Linked DNA regions of Homo sapiens: all the other regions are linked to region 4. The links are contacts of gene promoters, found by promoter capture Hi-C in blood cells and fetal thymus (Javierre and others, 2016). All regions are on one chromosome and are shown on one strand. The core of a region is centred on a gene start or on the middle of the fragment in contact, and the rest is flanking DNA. Distances in the headings are between cores, read along the strand shown. Region 1 has its middle 12 kb from the start of MEX3C. Region 2 overlaps MEX3C (mex-3 RNA binding family member C). Region 3 has its middle 53 kb from the start of MEX3C. Region 4 holds the start of STARD6 (StAR related lipid transfer domain containing 6). Region 5 has its middle 27 kb from the start of MEX3C.

Region 1 (4,380 bases), core at 1,356-3,855, 3.1 Mb after region 4:
TATTTCACACAGCTTTCACAACTCTGCTCGCAGATATAATCTCCCTTGTACGGAAGGGAAACTGAAGTTCAAAGAAGTTAAATCATTAAGTAATGCATTGTTCATATGTAGCGAGGCTGGGACTTAACCGCTACTCTGCCTGAATCTTTACACAAGAAACCAACCCATCCACAGTAGATGGGCCTCCAAGCAGAGTCTAAACCCCTTAGCCTTTTCAAATTTCCAGGTTTTGCTTCCTCTTGTTGCCATATATCAATCCCTCATTGTAATCAGATGTGTCTACTCACCTCCCAATCCCACCCCTGAGGCTCCCAAGTCTGTGGGCTTCTCTTTTGCCTCTGTGTCTTTACTTGTGGTAATTCTCACCAAGAAACTGCCTTTCCCCCTCTTTTTTACCCATTTAGAGTCCACCTCCCCTAAATGTCTGCTTAATTTCACTACTTCCGTCAAGACTTTACTATCTTTTTTTTTTAATTATATCTTCTCAAAATGCCTACAATATGTTTCTCTGGCATCCACTGAATTATTAGATCCTTGCCTTCCATGCCCTCGTGCATTCTAACTTTCAACCATTCTGCCACCTAGATTATGAGTCTTTTGTGGTCTAGTGCATGACTTATATTTCCTTGTATTCCCCATATGTTTGGTACAATAACTTGTAAGAAGTTAGTCAATATTTGTTGATCCGTGTCTTTCTCCTCCAAGGGGCTGTATTACCAACAGGGTCTCACTCTGTCACCCAGGCTGGAGTGCAATGATGTGAACACAGTTCACCGCAGCCTCAACCTCTTGGGCTTCAGCAATCCTCCTGCCTCAGCCCCCCAAGTAGCTGGGACTACAGGCACACACCACCATGCCCAGCTAATTTTTTTTTATTTTTGGAAGAGGTGGGGTTTCACCATATTGCCTAGGCTGGTCTCAAACTCCTGGGCTCAGGCGATCTGCCCACCTTGGCCTCCCATCGTGCTGGGATTACAGGTGTGAGCCACCATACCATGCCAAGTCATAATAATTCTTGAAAAGCTTTTCCCCTTTGGCAAAATATTAATTTGATCTTAAGACTCAAATATTTGGACATTCCTATTACATTGGTAATTTTCAAGAGTCAAGATCATAACAGTTGTAAAATGCTGAGAGTATAGATAAATTATTGGGAAATTTACACTAGCAAATATTTAGTTTACCTCCTAATAAACCGCTAATAAACACGCATAGAGAATTTACTACCAAATACCACTATATGGAATGTTTTATTGATGTACCTTAATAGTAGTTCATAGCATCTAAAGAGACGCGAAATCAATTTTAGAGGACCTTAAACTTATTAAACATTACTATTTACTTTCTACCAGATTTTACAATGTTACTTTATATAATAAATAGAAGTTACAGGAAAACAAAATATGTTTGGGGAATATGGAAAATGATCTAAAGATTGTTTTATATTGGAGGTTAGAGTACCTGTTTTAACTAGCAAGGCTTTGAAAATTGCATGAAACTTAGGAGATGATAAATGTTTACAATTTGCATCCACATTGTTACTAACACAATAGCCTGTTAAATCCCTTGGCAGGAATATGAGCAGACTGCAGGCCATCCACATTATTCATCTAGGGGGAAAAAACATTATTCACAAATTTTAATTGCTCCTGTGACACCAACAGTCTGAAAATGAAACATAAAAATGTAGCCTTTGGGAAGTTTTACTGTGCAACGACTTTATGCAACCCTGACCAGAGGGATCGATGTCTCTATCACAATTACACAAAGACCTGAATAAAATAAGTTAATAGTTTCAACTCGGGTCCTAGTGAACCGTTGACATATTTTAAAATTCATTCTATCCACTGTAAACTCAACAAGTCCTACACCTGACCCAAAATAAATAAGTCACCACCTCCCCTAAGAACCAGTGCCCTGAGGGAGAGGTTTTAGCAGAGAGATTTACATTTAGGCTCTCCAGGTAAAGGGAACCAGCCGTTGCCTGCCTAGAGAATTAGGTTGACCTTCCACCTCTAAAGCTAAGACTTAGAGGGTTGCAAAGAAAAAGAGGAGGATTGGCAGGAGAGATGGTGAGAAACACCAAATCAGAGAAGTGACCTTTAGATTCAAGCTACAACAGAAGCCACCGACTGTCATGAAACCCTTGAAACCCTAGAAACATTTACCCCAGACTCACTCTACCTGCAGCCCTCCCCATTAAGAGCAACAGCATCTTCTGCTTGCACAGGCCAAAAACCTTGGAGTTTGCTGGCACTGTCTTCAAAAGTGTGTCCCAAATCCCACTGTTTCTTGTCACTCTGCTCCTCTTTGTGTCATCTACACTCAATTCTCAACATGTTTATATATAAGTATCACTTTTTTTTCCTTTTTGGTACCAATTCCTTGCTTAAAACTCAGCAATGCCTTCTCATTTCCCACAGAGTAAGGCTGAAATCCTTTAATTTTTTACTTTTTTTCTAACAGAGACAGGGTCTCACTCTGTGAGTGCAGTAGCTGGAGTGCAGTAGCACCACCTCAGCTCACTGCAGTGCTGGGCTCAAGCAATTCCTCCACCTCAGCCTCTCCCATACCTCCAACTATAGGTGTGCACCACCAGGCACAACTAATGAAGTCCTTTAAATGGCCTAAAAGTTCTGCATGCTCCACTCCTAATTTAGCCTTCACTCTAGATGTGTGGCTCTTCCTGGAACACTTTTTCCCCAAATACCCCCTTGGCTAACTCCTTAACCTGCAAATCTTTGCTCAGACATGACCCTCTCAATCAGGCCTACCCTGACCCACCATCGTGGGTCAGGATCCTGCCCAAGACCCCTGTAGTTGATATCCTCCTTACCATATTGCACTCTTGTTTATATATATACAGATGTGTGTGTGTGTGTATATATATATATATATGTGTGTGTGTATATATATATATATATGTGTGTATATATATATGTATATATATTTATTTTAAGATGGAGTCTCGCTCTGTTGCCCAGTCAGGTTGGAGTGCAGTGGCACAATCTCAGCTCACTGCAACCTCTCCTTCCCAGGTTTAAGTGATTCTCCTGCCTCAGCCTCCTGAGTAACTGGACCACAGGCACATGCCACCACACCCAGCTAATTTTTGTATTTTTAGTAGAGACAGGGTTTCGCTATGTTGGCCAGGCTGGTCTCAAACTCCTGACCTCAAGTGATTGCCTGCCTCAGCCTATATGACTGGTATTACAGGTATGAGCCACTGCTCCGGGCCTTTGTTTTTCATATAGCATTATCACCTTCTAACATGCTGTACAATTTATTTTGTTATATATTGTTGTTTAACTTTTGTGCCCCACCCCCCTTATAGAATGTGTAGGTTCTGCAGAAGAAGGGATCTTTTTTGTTGTTGTTCACGAATGTGTTCCAGATACTTAGAACAGTGCCTGGGACATAGTAGAGGCTATGTAATTATCTGTTAGATAAATAAATGAATTCATGTTTTATCTGTGAAGAAAATGAGGCACTAACAGGATAAGTGATTTTTAAGCTAAAAAGCAGCCAACTCCCCTTTACTGCATGTCCCCCACGGTCTCTGGAAGATGTATTCCATAGGTTAGGTTATAATGGCAAATTGACATTTTTGTCAGTGTTAGAATACAGTGGTAGAGAAGTTCAGTTCTACATCAATGAATCTTAGAAGTTAAGAAAACGATCATTTCACATTAACTCCTTTTTTTTCCTATCTTTCTTTCTTTCTTTTTCCCTTTTTTTTTTTTTTTTTTTGAGACAAGAGTCTTGCTCTGTGGCCCAGGCTGGAGTGCAGTGGCGTGATCTCGGCTCACTGCAAACTCCACCTCCTGGGTTCAAGCAATTCTCCTGTCTCAGCCTCCTGAGTAGCTGGGACCGCAGGCGTGCGCCACCATGTCCGGCTAATTTTTGTATTTTTAGTAGAGACAGGGTTTCAATATATTGGTCAGGCTGGTCTCAAACTCCTGACCTCAGGTGATCCACCCACCTCGGCCTCCCAAAGTGCTGGGATTACAGGCATGAGCCACTGGCACCCAGCCTTCCAGCCTTTTTTTCATTTTTCTTTTTTTCCTGACCATTAGATCATCAGGAATCATGTTATCTGAAACTATCGCAGAGTGGTGAGAGTACAGGCACTTTTTAATGTCTTCTTTATCTTTAGTAGAACTCTAGATTTCTTTTTTGGAAGCTTTTCAGTTATGAGTTTAATTTCCTTATCATTATAGGAATATTTAGGTTGTTTAATCTTGGTTGAATTTTGGTACTATATAGTTTTCAAAACGTTGGTCCATTTCTTCCAAGTTGTTGAATTTATGAACATAAAGTTGTTTGTGGTAGTCTCCTTTTATGCTTTTAATGGCTTCAGGATCTATAGTGGGATCCCAT
Region 2 (4,354 bases), core at 1,170-3,669, 3.2 Mb after region 4:
TGTGTTTATTTGGTTAATAAGGAAATGTTGAATTTAATTATGTCTTAGATCATGGAGACAAATTGCTGGCTCTTCCATTTAAACCTTGTATTTTCCCAGAGTTGACAATACTGTTAAAAGTATGTCATCATCCTCTATCTTAAAAGCAGAAAATCTGGTCCTTTTGCTGTTCTGAACCATACAACTTGTGGATCATTGACCCCTTTGCCACCCCCATGTCCCAGCAGCATAGTAATAAACCTGTAAAGTGTTTGCTCACTCGTATGGAGAACGAAGTGACTTCTAATGTTCACATTCTTTTACAGTATTATATTTCCCCACGGGAGAGAATCTGTCCTAAGTAAGTAAAACAGGGCAAATCATTTCATTTTCTTGTTTGCTTTGAAGGAGCTAAACTTTCATCCTTAAGATTAAATTATCCATTTCTGCCATTTTATGTATTACCTGAAGCCATAATTTTCTATTTGACATCTCTTAATTGATTTTGGAAATAATTATGTCACAGATGGAGACATTTATGACTTCAGCTCTGAAGCAAAGAGCAGGACAAATGGAATTCTGAGTCACATAGACTAGCAACTCATGTAGATGGCCTCTGAGTTCCAGTGTTTTTCTAAAACACAAACTACCGCTTTTGATACTGATGAAAGTTGGCAGAGTGTTTGACCTCGAATTTATACTCCCCAGTAGCATATGGTCATTTGTAAATGTTAAATTGGCCTTGTTTTTTAAAGCATTGCATCTGTTGTGAAACAACAATACTGTAAAATAAAGCCAGGAACTGAAGAGGCTTGTTGATATAATCAAAGAAGTTTTAGAATATGGACATCAAAAATAAACCTGACAACAGATTTTAAGACCTAATTTTATAAACTTAGAACGTCTCTGTTTTTAAGTATAGTACCTGCAAGACATATTAACAGTGATTAACAGGTCTAATTTTAGTCAGCAGGTTTTGTTCCAATTTGTACAGTCATTTATATCCATTTAGACTAAAAAGTGAATTAAAATAGAACTGTATACCCATTCTTAATACATTATAAATTAATACTAAATGTCATAAATTCAGTTGTTTAGAGACTTGTAACCCAAGATTTTGTATTACTATTAGGATAAATGTGTATCTTTCATTAGACTTTAATTAATGGTCTATGTGTGTTCTCTAGCCACATAGTCTAGAAAAGTCGTCTCTAGCTTCTTTTTATTGTACACCCTGTCCAAAAAAAATGTGCATACTCCCAATATCTGGATATTTATGTATGAATAGTAAGTGTGCTTAATATATTACACATTATAAAACAAAATTCTTTATTAACAATTAATACTTTACACTGTTTCAATTTGTCTTCCCAATTTCTTAGGGTGGAACCACCCTTCAAGCTCTAACACAACTGAAATAGGGTTTATACGTCTGTGACCAGGAGAAAAAGAGAAAGCTTGGTCTTGCTGTACATAAATTTTCTCTTCAAGGAGAAGTACATATTTCATGAGAATAAATAGTTTCAGAATGATGCTACAGCACAGTGTCTTTTTCTTTTATGGGGATGAGGGTGCATTGTTGGACTTCTCTTTGCTTAGTACTATGTTAGGTGCTTCACCAGTGCCGTTTAACCCTGCTAGGTGGTTACTGCCGTTTAGAGAGGTAGAAACAGAGGTTCTGAGAGCTAACTTGCTCAAATAGTTGAGATTGGATTTAGCATAGTTTGACATCAGAAATAAAATTCTTTGTACTCTACATTGCCACTTCAGTATTGAAGCATTCTGCTCTGGAAGGTTAGTATTTTGGATTAACTTGTGCCCTAATCGTAGGATACTGAATTTCTAATATGCATAATTTAAAATACCACTATCCAAATTAGTTTACTTGATAAAATTTTGGTGTCTGTACTACCCACAAGGCACAGTTTTAATTGTAATATAGTTCTAATGTGTCCAGCTAAAAATTTACTGTCATTTGTAGTACAGAAAGTTAATTTGCGTATATATATAGACACTAGCTTTAAAAATTAAATATTACAATTTTTCTAGGCTTTAAAATTTAAATTTCGTTAATAATGGTTTGTATTAGTTCTGGGACCCTTGAGAAGGGTTCAGTTACTGTAATTGTTTTTGCAAATGGGTGGGGAATCTACTGCCTTTCTTCCTGCCTTATTCAGCTAATGAACTATTCTGATTCACTAGGGAGGAAATGGGAAATGAAGTGGTAATTCAAGGGTGTATTTTGTACCCCTTGGTTACCAACAACCTGAAAATGATCCAGGGAACCAAGTATTTGTGTTAGTCTGTTAGAGATTTCTATCTAGAAAATTTTCAAACAATGTTTATAGGTTGGAATTCTAGGTGGTTCTTTACAGCGTAAGTTTTTAAGGAAAGGTAGCATTTAGTTATAAGGGAATGCTTAATATATTGCTGATTTGGTTTTGAATACTTTTGCCTTAAACATAAAAATGTTTTAGTATGTGTATTTTAATATCGTAGCTTATACAATATGTAAAAATACCTATTGTAGCTACACCAAACTGCCTGTGACAGTCTCTGTTCAGCTGTGGTATATTGGAAAGAACCAAATCAGAAATAGATATTCCTGTGCCAATAACTCACTGTGTAATCTTGAACAAGTCACTTAAACTCCCTAGGCTTCAGATTCCTCTTTTGCACCTGGGCATAATCATATCTACAATTCCTGTAGAGACTCTGGAAGATAAAGAAATCGACATATATGAAACTGTAAGTGCTAAGCACATTACTTTTGTTAAGGTAAATCTGAAATTAATTTGGAACCACCGTTTAATCATGTCCACCTTTTTTGGCTTTAGCAGATAGTTTGACTCATTATATTCTTCCAATGTAATAGAACTAGAACCAACGGATATCTGAATGCCTTTTAGATACTTGGCACTTCTGTCAAGATGGGCTTGTTATGCTGTGGTTAACAAAGAACTCTGACACCTCAGTGTTAAAACAACTATGGTTTATTTCTTGTTCATAGGGGCTCTGCTCATTTTAGTCATTCAGGGACACAGGCCAACAGCAGCCACCATCTCCAGTGTTACTGATCTTCTGTTGTGCCAGAAGATGAAAGACTACAGCATAGCACATACTGGTCTTAAAATGTTAGATCCGGAAGTAATGCTTATCACATCTGCTCATATTTCATTAAAGCAAATCATCTGGCCACACCTAACTTCAAAAGGCTGAGAAAGTATATGACAACTATGTGCCCACAAGGAGAGCCATGATGACTACTACAGTACTATTTTATAATTTATAGGATTGTTATAGAATTCTAAACAGTGTCATTCCTGCCATGTAGAATTTGTAACCAAACTCAAGATGAGAAAGTAGATAATGTTCATAAGATACTAAAGGAGTGTATTTGCACTTAAAAATAAAAAAAGCTTTTTAAGAAGCTCCAAGTAGATCATGGATAGTTATGTTTAAATCTCCATTGATATTCAGGTGATCCTTAAGTGATACCTTTTTTATTAAACTGCATTCTTAATGCTTCCCAAGTAGCTTATATGCCATAATTTGTGGATTTACTTTTAACATTTTCCCCATGCTACCATTAGTTACTATATAGAGACTTACAAAGATTAAATCTGATATTTAAGCCTTGAAAATAATTTTCTAATGTTAGGATTACCAAACCCAGATATACTAAATTGAATGTATGCATAGTCTAATACTGTTTGAGTAGTTCAAGTCTTTATTCTATAACTGACTTTGAGAATTTTAAGTTACACTAACTATAGGACCTCTTCCATGCCAGTGTTTGAGATGTAAGGACACTTCAAGTGTTTGTTGCCCTTGTCCGGTAAGTACGGACTACAATTCCTCATTGCATGCAGAGAAGCCTGGTTTGGTCACAAGTAAAGTCTATCATGGAATAATAAGACTAAGCCTTAAAATAATAAAAGAAAATCCTTTAATGAAAACTGCAGATGTAGTTGAAGGTAAGCATAAGTAATTTGGTCTTGAACATGATTGAAGGGGAAGTGGGGAGGGAATGGCTTCAAACAACTAGAAAAGATCTCCCAAAATGGTTACCAATGTAAAAGTATATATTTGCATTTGGGGCTGACCTTTTTATTATTATTTCCCTTCTCTGTGCCTCCCTTTCCCTTTGCCTTCTCTTCTGCCTTTCTACCAGTGCCATTTAGTATAATGCAGGAAAGGACATTGGACTTGGAGTTAGAAACCTTGTGTTTTGCACTTGCTGCCTGTGACCTTGGATAAATCACTTAACCTCTCTGAGCCTGTTTTCTCTTCTGGAAAAAACCTACTTCATCTACTTGTTCTTCCAGGTTTCTCTCTCCCCTCTCCCTCATTTGTTGTGAGGATCAAGTCTGAG
Region 3 (4,968 bases), core at 1,970-4,469, 3.2 Mb after region 4:
CCGTCAATTACTAATCTACAAGAAATACAGAGGATAGAGGAATATGTTAAATTATGCCATGGAAATGTAATCAGCAAAATTCAGAATATGGCCGGGTGTGGTGGCTCACGCCTATAATCCTAGCACCCTTGGAGGCTGAGGCAGGCAGATTGCTTCAGCCCAGGACTTCAAGACCAGCCTGGGCAACATGGTGAAGGCCTGTCTCCAAAATAAAACAAAAATCAGCTGGGCATGGTGGTGCGCCTGTAGTCCCAGCTACTCAGGAGGCAAAGGGGGATCACCTGAGCCCAGGAGGTTGAGGCTGCAGTGAGCCAAGATTGCACCACGGCATTCCAGCCTGAGTGACAGAGCCTGTCTCAAAAAAAAAAAAAAAAAAAATGAAAAAAGAAAAGTCCAGAATAAGAGAAACTCTACCAATGACCTGGTTTTTTAAAACAAATTATGAGAGAGACAGAAGAAGAGGAAAACTACAAATTAAGAGACATATAAAAACAGTTTTTAAAAAGTCAAAATTAAACTGTAGTGTTTAGGTATTTATACTTGGATGACAAAATCATGAAGACAAGAAGATAATTACCATAAAAGTCAGAATAGTAGATATTCGGGTGGGGTAAGATGATGGCTATGATTAGCAGAGGGCACTTGCTTGCAAGCTTCTATCTTCTTACATGAGTGGTGGTTGCAAAAATATTCACCTTATAAAAATTCATTAAGCAGTACATTGTTTTATGTGATTTTCTGAAGGTGTGTTATATTTAAAAATAAAAAGTTTTTTGAAAGTCAAAATCATAAAAACATGATTCACAAATTTGACCTGACATATATATAGAACACTGAACCCAACAACTACAGAACACATATTTGTTTTAAGGACACAGACAATTTACAAACATATATCAGGTTTGGGGCCATTAATTTGCAACAAATGCCAAAAAAAAATGAAGTCACAGAATATATTCTTTGACCACTGTAGAAATGAAATTTTAACCAATTAAAAGATCCTATAAAATCTCCATATGTTTGGAAATTCATAAACTTCTAAGTAACACTTAGATCAAAGACAGTATCAAAAAGTAACTTAGAACCAAATATTTATTTTCTTTCTTTTTTTTTTTTGACGTGGAGTTTCTCTCTTGTTGCCCAGGCTGGAGTGCAATGGCACGATCTCGGCTCACCGCAAGCTCTGCCTCCCAGGTTCAAGCAATTCTCCTGCCTCAGTCTCCCGAGTAGCTGGGATTATAGGCATGTGCCACCACGCCCAGATAATTTTGTATTTTTAGTAGAGACAGGGTTTCTCCATGTTGATCAGGCTGATCTCGAACTCCCGATCTCAGGTGATCCTCCTGTCTCAGCCTCCCAAAGTGCTGAGATTACAGGAGTGAGCCACCATGCCCGGCCAGAACCAAATATTTCTGAACCAAGTAATAATATGTAATATAAATCTCTAAACCTGTGGCATGCATCCAACACTATGCCTAGAGAGACATATATACCTTTAATTGCACAACTGAAAAGGAGAAATACTAAAAGTTGACGATCTAAGCATTCTTCTAAAAAAAACTTTTTTTTCAAAGAAGGCAAATTAACCCCCCAAAAAAGTAGAAGGTAAGAAATAGTAATGATAAAAACAAAACGAATAAAATACAAAACAAATAAAATAGAGAATTCAACAATGCTGAAAATTGGTTATTTGTTCAAAAAAACCAATCAATGGCCAGGCACAGTGGCTCACGCCTGTAATCCCAGTACTTTGGGAGGCCGAAGGGGGTGGATCACCTGAGGTTGGGAGTTTGAGTCCAGCCTGGCTAACATGGTGAAACCCCATCTCTACTAAAAATACAAAATTAGCTGGGTGTGGTGGCACGCACCTGTAATTCCAGCTACTCAGGAGGCTGAGGCAGGAGCATCACTTGAACCCAGGAGGTGGAGGCAGAGGTTGCAGTGAGCTGGGATCACGCCACTGCACTCCAGTCTGGGTGACAGAATGAGACTCCATTTCAAAAAAACAAGAAGAAGAAAGAAAGAAATCAATCAATAAGCTGCTGAGTAATTTAGAAAGGGTGAAATCCAAACAACCAACATGAGGAATGAAATAGAAGCCATCACTGCAGATACCACACATATTCAAAAGATAATAAGGGAGCTGGGCGTGGTGGCTCATGACTGTAATCCCAGCACTTTGGGAGGCCAAAGTGGGCGGATCACTTGAGGCCAGAAGTTCCAGACCAGCCTGGCCAACATGGTGAAACCTCATTTCTACTAAAAATACAAAAATTGGCCAGATGTGGTGGTGCACACCTGTAATCCCAGCTACTGGGGAGGCTGAGGCACAAGAATCACTTGAACCATGGAGGCAGAGATTGCAGTGAGCCAAGATCCTGCCACTGCACTCCAGCCTGAGTGACAGAGAGAGACTATCTCACAGAAAAAAGAAAAGACACTTTGGGAGGCCGAGGTAGGGGGATCACAAGGTCAAGAGATCGAGACCATCCTGGCCAACATGGTGAAACCCTGTCTCTATTAAAAATACAAAAATTAGCTGAGTGTGGTGGCTCGTGCCTGTAGTCCCAGCTAGGCAGGAGAATCGCTTGAACCTGGGAGGCGGAGGTTGCAGTGAGCCAAGATCATGCCACTGCACTCCAGCCTGGCAACAGAGCGAGACTCCATCTCAGAAAAAAAAAGAAAAAGAAAGAAAGAAAAGAAAAAAGATGATAAGGGGATATTATGACAACTTTGGGCATTACACTGGAAAATTGACAATGAACAACTTCTTAACAAAAATACCCCTTAATCAAAACTGACACAAGAATAGAAAATCTAAATAGTCCATATATATCAAGGAGATTAAATTTCTTATTAAATCCTTCCCCACAAAGAACACTTCACTTCCAGACAGCTTCAGTGGTAAGTTTTTACTTTTAGGGAAACCCTTTCACTACTGTTACACAACTTTTCCAGAGAATAGAAAAAGAGGAATAATTCCAAACTTATTTTTTATTTTTATCTATTTATTGAGATGGAATCTCGCTCTGTCTCCCAGGCTGGAATGCAGTGAGCAGCATGAGCTCTGCTCACTGCAACCTCTGCCTCCCGGGTTCAAGCGATTCTCGTGCCTCAGCCTCCTGAGTAGCTGGGATTACCAGCATTCGCCACCACGCCCAGCTAATTTTTGTACTTTTAGTAGAGATGGAGTTTTGCCAAGTTGGCCAGCCTGTTCTCGAACTCCTGACCTCAGGTGATCCTCCTACCTCAGCCTCCCAAAGTACTGGGATTATAGGCATGAGCCACTGTACGAAACTTATTTTTTTAAAACATAGCCTTGATACCAAACCTGACAGCAAAATTACAAAAAGGGAAAATGTTAAGTCCAGTGTCATTAATATCAATTTTTGAAATCCTTTAAAAAATTAGCAAACCAAATCCAATGATATATAATATAAAAAGGATAATGTATCATGGCTAAGTGGAGCTTATTTCCAGACTGCAAGAGTGACAGCTTTGGAAAATCAATCATTATAATCTACCACACTTTCATAATGAAAGTGAAAAATCATATTATCTCAATAAATGCAGAAAGGACCAGTATAGCAAGATTTTGAAATACAAGATCAGTATAAAAATCAGTTGCATCTCTAGGGTCCAGCAGTAGTTTGGAAATTAAATTTTAAAACAGCATCAAAAAAATTAAATACCTAGGAATAATTCTAACAAAAGATGTTCAAGATGCCTATGTTTAAAACTATAAAAACATTACTGAAAAAAAGATCTAACTAAATAAAGAATGATATCATGCTCAGAAATTGGAAGACTCAATATTGTAAAGATATAAATTCTTCCAAAACCAATCTACAGATTCAGTGCAAGTCCAATCAAAGTTCCCTTTTTGTGGTAACAGGCAAGGTGATTTTTTTTTTTTTTTTTTGAAATGGCGTCTCGCTCTTGTAGCCCAGGCTGGAGTGCAGTGGTGCGATCTCAGCTCACTGCAACCTCCACCTCCAAGGTTCAAGCGATTCTCCTGCCTCAGCCTCCCAAGTAGCTGGGATTACAGGCTCCTATCACCATGCCTGGCTAATTTTTGTATTTGTAGTACAGATGGGGTTTCACCATGTTGGCCAGGCTGGTCTCAAACTCCTGACCTCAGGCGATCTACCCACCGCTGCCTCCCAAAGTGCTGGGATTACAGGTGTGAGCCACCACACCAGGCCCAGATAAGGTGATTTTGCAATTCAAAAGGAGATCGGGTGCAGTGGCTCACGCCTGTAATCCCAACACTTTGGGAGGCTGAGGTGGGCTGATCACAAGGTCAGGAGATCAAGACCATACTGGCTAACATGGTGAAACCCCGTCTAATAAAAATACAAAAAATTAGCCAGGTGTGGTGGCACGTGCATGTAGCCTCAGCTACTCAGGAGCTGAGGCAGGAGAATCACTTGAACCCAGGAGGTGGAGGTTGCAGTGAGCCGAGATCGCGCCACTGCACTCCAGCCTGGGCAACAGAGTGAGACTCTGTCCCAAAAAACAAAAACAAAACAAAACAAAAAATTCATAAGGAACTGCAAAAGTTCAAGAGTAGCTAACATCATCTTGAAGAAGATCTCCTCTGTCAGGAAGCAAGATTCATTAGAAAGCTAAAATAAGACATTATACTGTTATACTGTATAACAAACATAGACAGACCAATTGATATGGTTTGGCTCCGTGTTCCCACCCAAATCTCACATCAAATTGTAATTCCCAATGTGGGGAGGGACCTGGTGGGAGGTGATTGGATCATGGGGGCAGATTTCCCCCTTGCTGTTCTTGTGATAGTAAGTGAGTTCTCACGAGATCTGGTTGTTGAAAAGTGTGTGGCATATCCCCCTTTGCTCTCTCTTTCCTGCTTTACTATGGTAAGATGTGCTTGCTTCCCCTTCACCTTCTGCCATGATTTTTTCTGAGGCCTCCCCAACCATGCTTCCTGTACAGCCT
Region 4 (4,980 bases), core at 2,225-4,724:
TCACTCAATATTGGTTGCAGCATAGAAAAAAATATGCTATTAAACTAGGTGGAAAAATAACTTGTTTTCTCACCTACAAACCCTTCAATGGCATGGATTATACATAGAGAACAGCTGTTCTCATTCTTTGCTTCCGGAATATATTGACCACATCCCTCCAAGAACTGAATACAAACTTTTTCTATTCTAGGGTCATTCTGCAAGTGTTAAGTAAAGTAGTAATTGACTTATCAACAACTGCATTTTCCAAACTTGTCTTCAAGGAAGCTTTATTATGGACAAACTCTTAACATCTTGTGAATATTACTGTTCCACAGAGAATTATATAATCATTTTACAAAAACACCCAGATCTCAATATTATGTTATTTTTACTCCAAAGTAACAAAAATAATGTCAAACTTTACAATACTACAGTACATCTCCCAAATGCTTCAAAACATCTGAACACAAAGAAAACAAAGAATAAAAGCATACCATTGTTTGGTTTGTAAATATAGTTGCAGAACTGTGACATATTAGTAAAATCCTCATCAATGTTAATTTTTCCAGTGCTTGCACCAGGATATATTTGGCCTAGATCAAAATCATCAATATAAGCCTGTAGAGCTTGAGAAGCAGATCTGTACAGCTTATCTTTATAGTGAAACGAGCCATCAGAATTAGAGGAATTACTACCACTCAGGGTGCAGCTTGCCAGCAGGGCAGATACTGAAGATTCCTGAGAACAAAGTCTATGTTTTGTCTTTGATTTCGCCATGGCTTCTTCAAAGTGGATTGTTTCTATTCATTTCCCTTAAAAACAACTGTAATACAAAAACGAAATGTTAAGATGCCAATTAAAAGTGACCATACACAAACAAAATTACTAAATATGTAAACCTTTTGTAATTTTCTTTAAATAATAAAATCCATTATCTATAACAGACACTCCTTGTTAGGAATTGTAGATTTTTGTTATATTTATTATTGTGAATTCCTTCATCAATGATTTAGAAAACATTTTTTGAGTACCTACTATGTGGCTGGAAGTATGTATACAAAAATTATCTGAGAATATACATGGAAAATACCAAGGAGAGAGTACTCACTTCTTAAAAAGTCCTAAAAACTACTTATGAACCTCTTTTCTCTTATGGTGATATATTCTATGACATCACAATACCTAATATTCCCCTATACATCATATTTTTCAAATCATAAGCCTACTACCATGTGCTGCAGATAATAGCGCTCAATAAATTTTTTAAAGCCATCAAATGAAGTATTCAAAACAAGAACAATGGAGAATATTCACTTTCAATGTTATAAATGCTAGTACATTTACAACATTTAACTGTAAATAAACTGCAGGTCTTATTCTGGAATGAGTTAGCAATATACACTTTTCCTAAAATAGTTAATCATTTCCTGACCTTCGTTTTTGGTACCACCCTCCCTATTTTCAATTCTTATGTTAAATGGATTCAGCTCACCTCTTTCAAAGGAAGCTTAAATAATGTGAAAATCAACTCAATGTGTTCTTCTGTTTTTCCATTATTAAAATTGAGAGAATCCCTGTCTACCTCAGTACAGTAACAGGATGTATATTTGAAAACCTAAGAAATCACAGAACGAACCGGCACTAATTCAGTCCATGATGACATTCTTTTTAAAATTAAATGAATGGATTTCCTATACTAAAAAAGTATTAATGTTGAGGACTTAACATATGCTATGATGTTATAATGTTTAATTTTTGGCTATAATTTTAGAAATATTTGTTATAACAACTTTTAATGTAATCTTAGTAACTATTAAATTTGGCTTTAAAACATCGAAAGTTTTCTAATTAAATAAGAGACAAAGTAAAACATCATCCTACCACAGCGTTAGAGCATGCAATGGCCATTACAAGAGATCTGACCGTGGTCAGTGCAAATGGCAGAACATAAGGTAACAGTTGTTTCGTCTCATTGATTTATCTGAATTCTGTAATACTGGTATATCTCTGACGAATGGCTAAACTAAGCCAGCTTTACCTTTTTCGTATCCCTTTTATTTAAAGAAGTTTAAACTCACTCAAGTAAATTTGTTTGGATAAGCCTGACCAAATGTTTTCTGTCTTTGAATGCCGAACAGGCTACTGATTTTATTTTACAAAACCTTGAAAGAGAAAGCTGTTGTATTGGTCTCCGTAAGTGGGTGATAACATTTACTAGTTATTTCAACTCACAGGACAGACAAAAAGAAAATGCACAATTTAAGTTTCATTATGAAAAGTTTTCCAACTTTTCCCCAAAAGAGTATACAAAAGTAGAATCGTTCAATAAACCCCTATGTACTCATCATCCTGCTTCCAACAATCGCTGAACAGACCCCAATTGTAGCTAAAGTGGGTAGGGACCCACCCACTTCTCCCCACTTCAGCCACAGGATTATTTTGAACCCCACATATCTCATGCAAATCCCATATATCTTACCATTTCCTCCGTACAGGCTTCAGTTCGAATCTCCAAAAGAAAATCCATCACGCGGAAGAACAGAATGTTAAACTTATTGACAACAAATTTTAACTAACTTTGATTCAAAAACAGAATGTTCAGTGTTAAATAGCCAATGGGAATATCGCACAGGAAATTAAGAACAACTCTTGGAAATAGCTCTGTGACTGCTAAGTTAGGAAAGGGAACGTTTGTTTACTCGGCAGCAGAAAACCAGGAACCCACCGACCGGCCAGCGAAGGTCGCCCGTCTCCAGCAGTGCGCATCGTTCCCCTACCCCGGGCGCCCTGAATTCCAATTTTTCCAGTCCCAATCAGGCGACACCCTCCCTTTGGTGTTCCACCGCCCGTCAGTCACAGACACAGACAAGTTCTTCAGTGAGATGCTTTTCACTCCGAAACCATTTATTCAGCAGCCAGGGCGAGCGCAGCAATGGACTGAAGGAGAAGTGTTCCGAAGCGACAGCCCCAGAGCGCAAGCCCCTTCCTGTCGCCGCCTCAGGTCCGCAGACGCCCGTGTGAGCCCCCTCCGCCGCGTCCCGCGACCCTCCCTCGCCCAGGGGGCACTCCCCCTACAGTGTTCTTCCTTCCACAGAGACTCCACAAGCGCCCTCCCTCAGGAGACGTCTCCTCCTCTTTCCTCGCCACTCTCCTTTCGCCTTTTCTCGGCTGTCACAGGATGGGACAACCCTCGAAAAGACACCCTCCTTTCCGTCCTAACTCACCCCTAAGGCCCCAAAATAAAAATAAAGGAAAACAAAAACAAAAACCGCACACTTCCACAGCTCTCCGCCGAAAGCTCAGGCCTGTTACCCAACGCGAGACACCACAAAGCATCCCCAACCCGGACACCGCCCCGCCTCAGGCTCGGCTCACTCGCAGCTTCCTCCGCAGTCACAGCAGAGCTCGACACCCGCGCTCGCTTTCAAACCGCCCCAACATGGCGCCGGCCTGCGGTGCGCATGCGCGGCAGTGGGGCGCCGGGCGCGAGCGGAGATGAGGGAGCGGCCGGAGAAGAGAGGATGCTGTTGAGCGTTAGGTCGCGACCCCTGCTGGAAGGTGCTGTTTCTCCCTCCTTTCTGGGGCTGGGAATGGGGGGATGTGGGCTGCATCCAAGTCGCTGCCCCCCACGCCCTTCCAACCTCCGTCACAGCTATTCTCGGCCAGTTTGCGCGGGGACTTGCTGATCTCCCTTCAGCCGGCCCCGGGGTCTGCGGGAGGGGACTGGGTGGGGAGGGAGACTTAAGGGCGCTGGCGGCTGTCGTTCCGGTCGCTGAGAGTCTGCCCCACAGCTCCAGTTTTTCCAAGTGAGTTCAGCCTCCCCGCTTCCAGAGCATCCCCCGCCAAAAATAAGATATCGTCTCAGCTAGTAGGCAGTCCCCCCTCACCACTTCTTTCACTCCCTCTTCAGTGCCTTTCCTCTCACACCCCGGAGCCTCTCACACACAAAGCAGATGGGAGATTGGAGACCCGAGTTTAGCCAGGGATGGGATTTAACAAACTCCTAGGAAGCCTTGATTCCCAGGGAAGAATGGCAGTGACCCCGCACGGATTGGGGACCCAGTCAGGCAGCTCAGAAAGAGGGTCATTGTACAAACAGATGTAAAGACTCACTAACATGTGTGAACCTGTCTGTAAGTCTGGAAGGAATCCAGTTTCAACCAATTGGTGTATCAAAAAAAGAGGCCATCCCAATGTTGGTTTATGTTTATTTTCCACTGACCCTATGAGTGAAGATATCCTTGACCATGAGTCCATCTGAATATGTTCCAGCTCATCCGACGTTCCACCACCATGTAATACAATTGTAGTCTTACTGTTTGCACTTTCTTCTTTTTACCCTTTGTAGCCTACTAAATTTTACCTTCCCTTTTCTCTTAGCAAATGAAAAAGTCCGGAAGCTATAACGTTCAGTTTAGTGGTTAAACACAGGTCTATTGTGGCAGTAATAGTTGGTGATTTGAAAATAAGACATACCCTGCTAGTGGTATGTCCCAATAATCTTCAAAGTCTCTAGATCAATTAATATCAAGTAGGTTTCCAATAGGAAATCAAGAACGGTGTTTTATATGCTAAGACGAGCCCTGGTCGGGGATTAACAATCCTTGTTAATTGTTAGTGACGTAAGCTTAAAAACTTAAATTTTTGTATCCACGTTCCACCTAAGTGTCTTTTTAAACTGAGTTCCTTTAAAATAGTTTCTTAAAGATTCTTTTTATAAACAGTATCTTTTAAAGTTTTTTGTACTATATTTTTCTTTCATCTTGGGGCATATATGTAGCAAATGTTTCCTAATGAAGACAAAGTATAGATAAAGGACACTGAGAAGATATAAAGAAAATTATCAAATATATTGACCTAATTCATGGATCAAAATAATTCTACTTCTGCCTTGTTTCCTCACAGGTTAAGAGATATGGAGATTTCCACAAGGATTTGGAGAGGAGCCCCAGTAGTTACTAAAATTCTGCATTAGATCTGTCAGGAAAGGTAAAGAAA
Region 5 (4,508 bases), core at 1,309-3,808, 3.2 Mb after region 4:
AAATACAGGGAAGGACATTGAGATGCCTCAGGAGGAGATTCAATTTAGTAAAGATTTAAAATAGCTGTTCTCTTTAAAGTGGCATACCTTCCCCCTCGGGTATATCAGAGTAACTCTTCCTATTAAGTTTCTTCAGCTGATTGTATGGAATAATTGAAAATTGTGAAAGAAATGTTCCCGCCATTGAGATTTTCTACTGCCTCCATATTCATTTATCTGCATTTTAAAGGATAGCATTTGTACACCAGTCAGGAAAACTTCATAAGGAGGATAAGTGATTAGATATTTTAAATAGTAAATGGAGTTCACTGGTCAGAGATTGGAATTGGGAGGGAAAATGGCTGAAGAGAAACCACACATTTCTAAGCCCTTGGGGTGAGTTTAGATCCTCATTAGTCTCATGGAAAATGGGGATATTTGTAACTTGATTACTAAATGAGCTGTAAAAATAGACTTCCTGCTGCCTTTGAATGTGTTTTAAATGATAAATCTTCAATCTCTAAAAGCATGTGCGTAAGTACTTTCCTTTTGTAATGTGGAAGTTTTAAGAAGGAACTACAGTATTCAGCTGAGTTTAAAACAAAAACTGAAAAGAACTGGCTTAGTAAGAAGAGGCTTGCTAGTTTAAGAAGAGGCAGTAAATGAGAATCAAGATTATATAAATCTGCTCAATTCCTACCAGTAACATTTCAGTTTACCCAAAGCTGCTAGCAGTGTTATGCATAATTTACTGCATATATTAATATGGAGCATGAGGATGGGACAAATCAGTCACACCATCTTCAGGGCTGCACAAAACTTAAGGATACAAACATGACCTGTACCATAAAGTAAGTCAGATGGTGGTTCTTCTAAATTAGAATCTTCTTGGATAAGTCAGCAATAGTTTGCCTGTATTCAAAATGGAAAATCTGAGGGTTTCTGATTTAATCCTGAAACTGAGTGTAATTACTTAAAATTTGGAAATAAAATGTAGATATTCCCCTATATTAAAGCATTAAGGCTTTTATATCTGTTTCATGACATTTTCAAGATCAGAAACACTGAGTGGAACTTTTGACATGATCTGTTTCTGCAATTTCAGGGAAATTACCAAAGTATCACAAGGGACATGAATGGGTAGTGGTTTCAAGTCTACTTGAGTCAGATGTGAAGTGCTAGGCATTATACCTTAACGATAAAACTAGGGCTAGGTGCAGTGGCTGATTGATGCCTATAATCCCAGCACTTCGGAAGGCCGAGGCTGGAGGATCACTTCAGCCCAGGAGTTCAAGAGCAGCCTGGGTAACAGGGAGACCCTGTCTCTAGAAAGCTAAAATTTCAAAAAGGATTGAGGGAATACTTGATAATTTGTGGATTTGGCTAATGCCCAACATGTGTAAATTAGCCAGGTTTATTAGGTGACAGGAGAATGTGATCATAGAGTTAATAAATAGCAATACCTATTGAAAAATTATTAGTATTGTTGAAGTAAAATTTTCTGAAAGACCATTTAAAACAACAGAGAAATACTGGACAGATAGACTGTGTTGCCCAGGCTGGCCTCAAGCGATCCTCCAGCTTCGGCCTCCCAGAGTGCTAGGATTACAAACATGAGCCACTGTGCCCAGCCTACTTAGGATGTTTTTTAAAAAATCCTGGAAGCTCTAGTTATCTAGAGGCTAGGCAGATCTTTCTAAGTTTGTGTCATCAGTGGATGGGTGAAGGTTCTCAGAATTCATATTCTGAGAGCTGCCATCTCATTTGAATTTGAGAAAGCAAACTCCAAAATCTGCTTCTCTTGGACTGTTCCCAGTGGCTTTTCTTGAACCACACATAATCCAATGAAAAGATCTTATTCTCATGACTAGAAACTTGTGAGAACTCTTGAGTCAGTCGTCTTTTATGTTTTCCTAAGCAGGTGATTCCAAGTGCTTTTTCAAAAATGCATCCTTATGTTGAAGATTGTATTTGTGGTCAAGGATTTCAGAAATGGTCCCTTTTCTTTGCTAGTAGGCAAGCTTTTTTGATGTTCCTATTACTTTAGATGGTGCCCTTATCTTTTTAACTTTCCCCAGGAATAGCATCCTTCTGCCATCCCTTCCACCGTCACCACTACTTAGACACCCTTAGGTGCCACCCCTTCCCGAGAAAAGATAGAATCAGGACTCCACACCTCTCTCCCCCTGGGGTCTTAAAATCCAAGTAGACCAATGAAGGGAATTTAGTGTGTCACCTTTTAGAGTACATCTGATTTTTCAGTCATTTCCTATGCTTTCCAAATCCTGGTCATTACACCTAGAAACTGCTCCTGGGCTAGCCCTACAAAGGTGTCAAGGCATGGGAGTTGTAGAATTTCACTGTAGTCTCCAACTTGGGCTTCCATTTCAAGTTCCCTTATTTTCTGGCTTTGTCAGAGGGTACTTAATCCCATATTTTGCAGATTAATATTTTGCATCTCATTTTCCTTATCTGTAAAATGGAAATAATTGCCTCTGAGAACTGCCTGAAACCTAAGTATGAAACTAAGGCATAGAAATGCTTGCTGTGAAGTACATAATTTACTTTCATAGGTAGCATCCTCTTGTTCTGATTCTTTTAAAAATCCAGCATGACCCTGAAAATACTGTTGAAGTGCTCTGGAAGAGCAGTGTAAAGTAAAAGTGAAAAGCCTTTGGGGTTTGAAGCACTACCTTTAGTTGTGTGGCCCAGTTAGTACAAAGTGAACTCAGGTGCATAGTTTCACATAATCTTTACCATAGCCCTAGAGGTGGAAGTATTATCTCCATTTTTCAGAGAATAAAGCTGAGGCTTAAGAGTAAAAATTAATAAAGAGTAAAAAATAAGTAACAGGCTTAAGGTAAAAATTCCCAAGTCTAAAGGCATTTTCAGAAGATTCCATGGAAAATGCCTCAGTTGCTTGCAAATGTGAGCATTTTTTATTTAACTGGGCATGCCAATCAAAATATTTCAGTGGCCCTTTTTAATGATAGGATTAATTCATATCCTCAGACTGTCATGATCATGAAGAGCTTGAGCTAGTTAAGGCACAAATAATTGTTTCAGAATCGATTTGTTGATCCAGTGAGCACTTGCCTTGCCAAGCAAATGAAATGTCAAAATCAGTCAAAGCTTTGGTGGAGTCAGAATTTTTACTTTTAGTTTCATCTTTGATGCCATAGCATGAGCAGATAGTGGCCCAGCCAGATAACTTTGTTGACTTTTTGAAGGATTGGTCTTTTTCTAGAATAATGCAAATCCATTGACTTAAGTGTTTGTAGTTCTGAGTATGTAGTTTGCCTTGTCCTAGAGAGAAAAATCAAGAATGGGGGATGGACCTCATATTTTATTACTATGTGATGCTTTTTTTTTTTCTTCCTGGACCACATTTGTTTTTTTGTTTTTGCTTTTGCTTTTTTTTGAGACAAAGTCTCACTTGCTCTGTCACCCAGGCTAGAGTGCAGTGGTGTGATCTCGGCTCATGGCAACCTCTGCTTCCTGGATTCAAGTGATTCCCCTGCCTCAGCCTCCCGATTAGCTGGGATTACAGGCGGCCGCCACCACCCCTGGCTAATTTTTGTATTTTTATTAGAGAGAGACGGGGTTTCACTATGTTGGCCAGGCTGGTCTCAAACTCCTGACTTCAAGTGACCTGGACCACATTTCAACCCCTAGCTTCTTTTCTGTTCTGGCCCATTTTCTATTGCTTTTTCACATCTTTCCAAAAGGCTATTTAAATCAGTCCACTGACCTATGAGTCTTCATTCTGATCCCAGTGTCTCTAACATACCCTTGACTTATAGCTGCTAAAAGTGTACCAATTGAGAAGAGGGTTGGTTCTGCTTCCGGGGACGGCTGCAGGAGTTTAAAGTTGCTGCCAGATCCGACACTTGTAAGCCTGTTTCCTACCCACCTCCCCTTGTATGGGTGGGCTAACCTCAACTTCTCCCTTTAGCTCAGGGGTACTCAACCTTAGTACTATTGACATTTTGGGGTGAATAATTTGTTGGGGGGTAGGAGGCTGTCCTGTGCACTATGGGGTGTTTACCAGCATCCCTGGCCTCCACCCACTAGATGTCAGTAGTACACACACACACACACACACACACACACACACACAGTTGTGACCATCACAAATGCCTTCTGACATTGAAAGCCAAACCCTCATTAGCCAGTCCAAGGCTTAAGCAAGTTCTAGGTTGAGTACTTGAGTTAAGCATGCTCCTAAATGTTTCATATACAATGACACTTAATCCTTAAACTCTATGAGGGAAGTAGTACCCCCTCCTACAGATGAGAGCCCCATCTCAGAGATGAATGAACTTGCCCAGGGTTACACAATGAGACAAAGAATGGCATTCGGCCATTCTGATGTGCATGTTCTTCACCCCTGCTGGGTGCTGCTTCCTCACATTCCAATTGAAATGCCACAGTCGGGGTTCCTAAGCCCGAGGACCCCTTTACAAAGCTGTCTCTTGCACTTCCCAGGTTTTCTCTAGAGATCTTGCTGCCAGGCAGCCAGACCACTG

Evidence for each region. Contacts are between HindIII fragments. The CHiCAGO score rates a contact against its expected background, and 5 or more counts as called.
Region 1: a fragment that was not itself captured here is called in contact with the fragment with the promoter of STARD6 in region 4 in 1 of 17 cell types (non-activated CD4 T cells); the score reaches 5.9 in non-activated CD4 T cells.
Region 2: a contact is called between a fragment that was not itself captured here and the fragment with the promoter of STARD6 in region 4, in 6 of 17 cell types (total CD8 T cells, naive CD4 T cells, total CD4 T cells and 3 more). The highest score is 12.9, in total CD8 T cells.
Region 3: a contact is called between a fragment that was not itself captured here and the fragment with the promoter of STARD6 in region 4, in 1 of 17 cell types (non-activated CD4 T cells). The highest score is 6.0, in non-activated CD4 T cells.
Region 5: a fragment that was not itself captured here is called in contact with the fragment with the promoter of STARD6 in region 4 in 1 of 17 cell types (naive CD4 T cells); the score reaches 6.1 in naive CD4 T cells.

The regions. Positions count from the first base shown.
Region 1 is chr18:51,207,378-51,211,757 of GRCh38, reverse strand. No RefSeq gene overlaps it. Among named protein-coding and RNA genes, the nearest start is that of MEX3C, 12 kb to the right of the region's middle. The HindIII fragment of the contact is 3,160 bases long and covers 1,026-4,185 here.
Region 2 is chr18:51,190,070-51,194,423 of GRCh38, reverse strand. All of the region lies in intron 1 of MEX3C (mex-3 RNA binding family member C), which reads left to right. Among named protein-coding and RNA genes, the nearest start is that of MEX3C, 5.4 kb to the left of the region's middle. The HindIII fragment of the contact is 1,962 bases long and covers 1,439-3,400 here.
Region 3 is chr18:51,142,254-51,147,221 of GRCh38, reverse strand. No RefSeq gene overlaps it. Among named protein-coding and RNA genes, the nearest start is that of MEX3C, 53 kb to the left of the region's middle. The HindIII fragment of the contact is 5,127 bases long and covers 656-4,968 here.
Region 4 is chr18:54,356,352-54,361,331 of GRCh38, reverse strand. STARD6 (StAR related lipid transfer domain containing 6) reads left to right here and starts at 3,474. Exons shown (of 8, transcript NM_139171.2): 1 at 3,474-3,540; 2 at 4,888-4,971. C18orf54 (chromosome 18 open reading frame 54) reads right to left here and starts at 3,426. Exons shown (of 9, transcript NM_001288980.2): 1 at 3,257-3,426; 2 at 2,462-2,558; 3 at 477-805. The coding sequence starts at 759. RefSeq lists enhancers at 2,840-2,909, 2,411-2,922. The HindIII fragment of the contact is 3,120 bases long and covers 1,492-4,611 here.
Region 5 is chr18:51,168,083-51,172,590 of GRCh38, reverse strand. No RefSeq gene overlaps it. Among named protein-coding and RNA genes, the nearest start is that of MEX3C, 27 kb to the left of the region's middle. RefSeq lists an enhancer at 3,855-4,435. The HindIII fragment of the contact is 1,111 bases long and covers 2,003-3,113 here.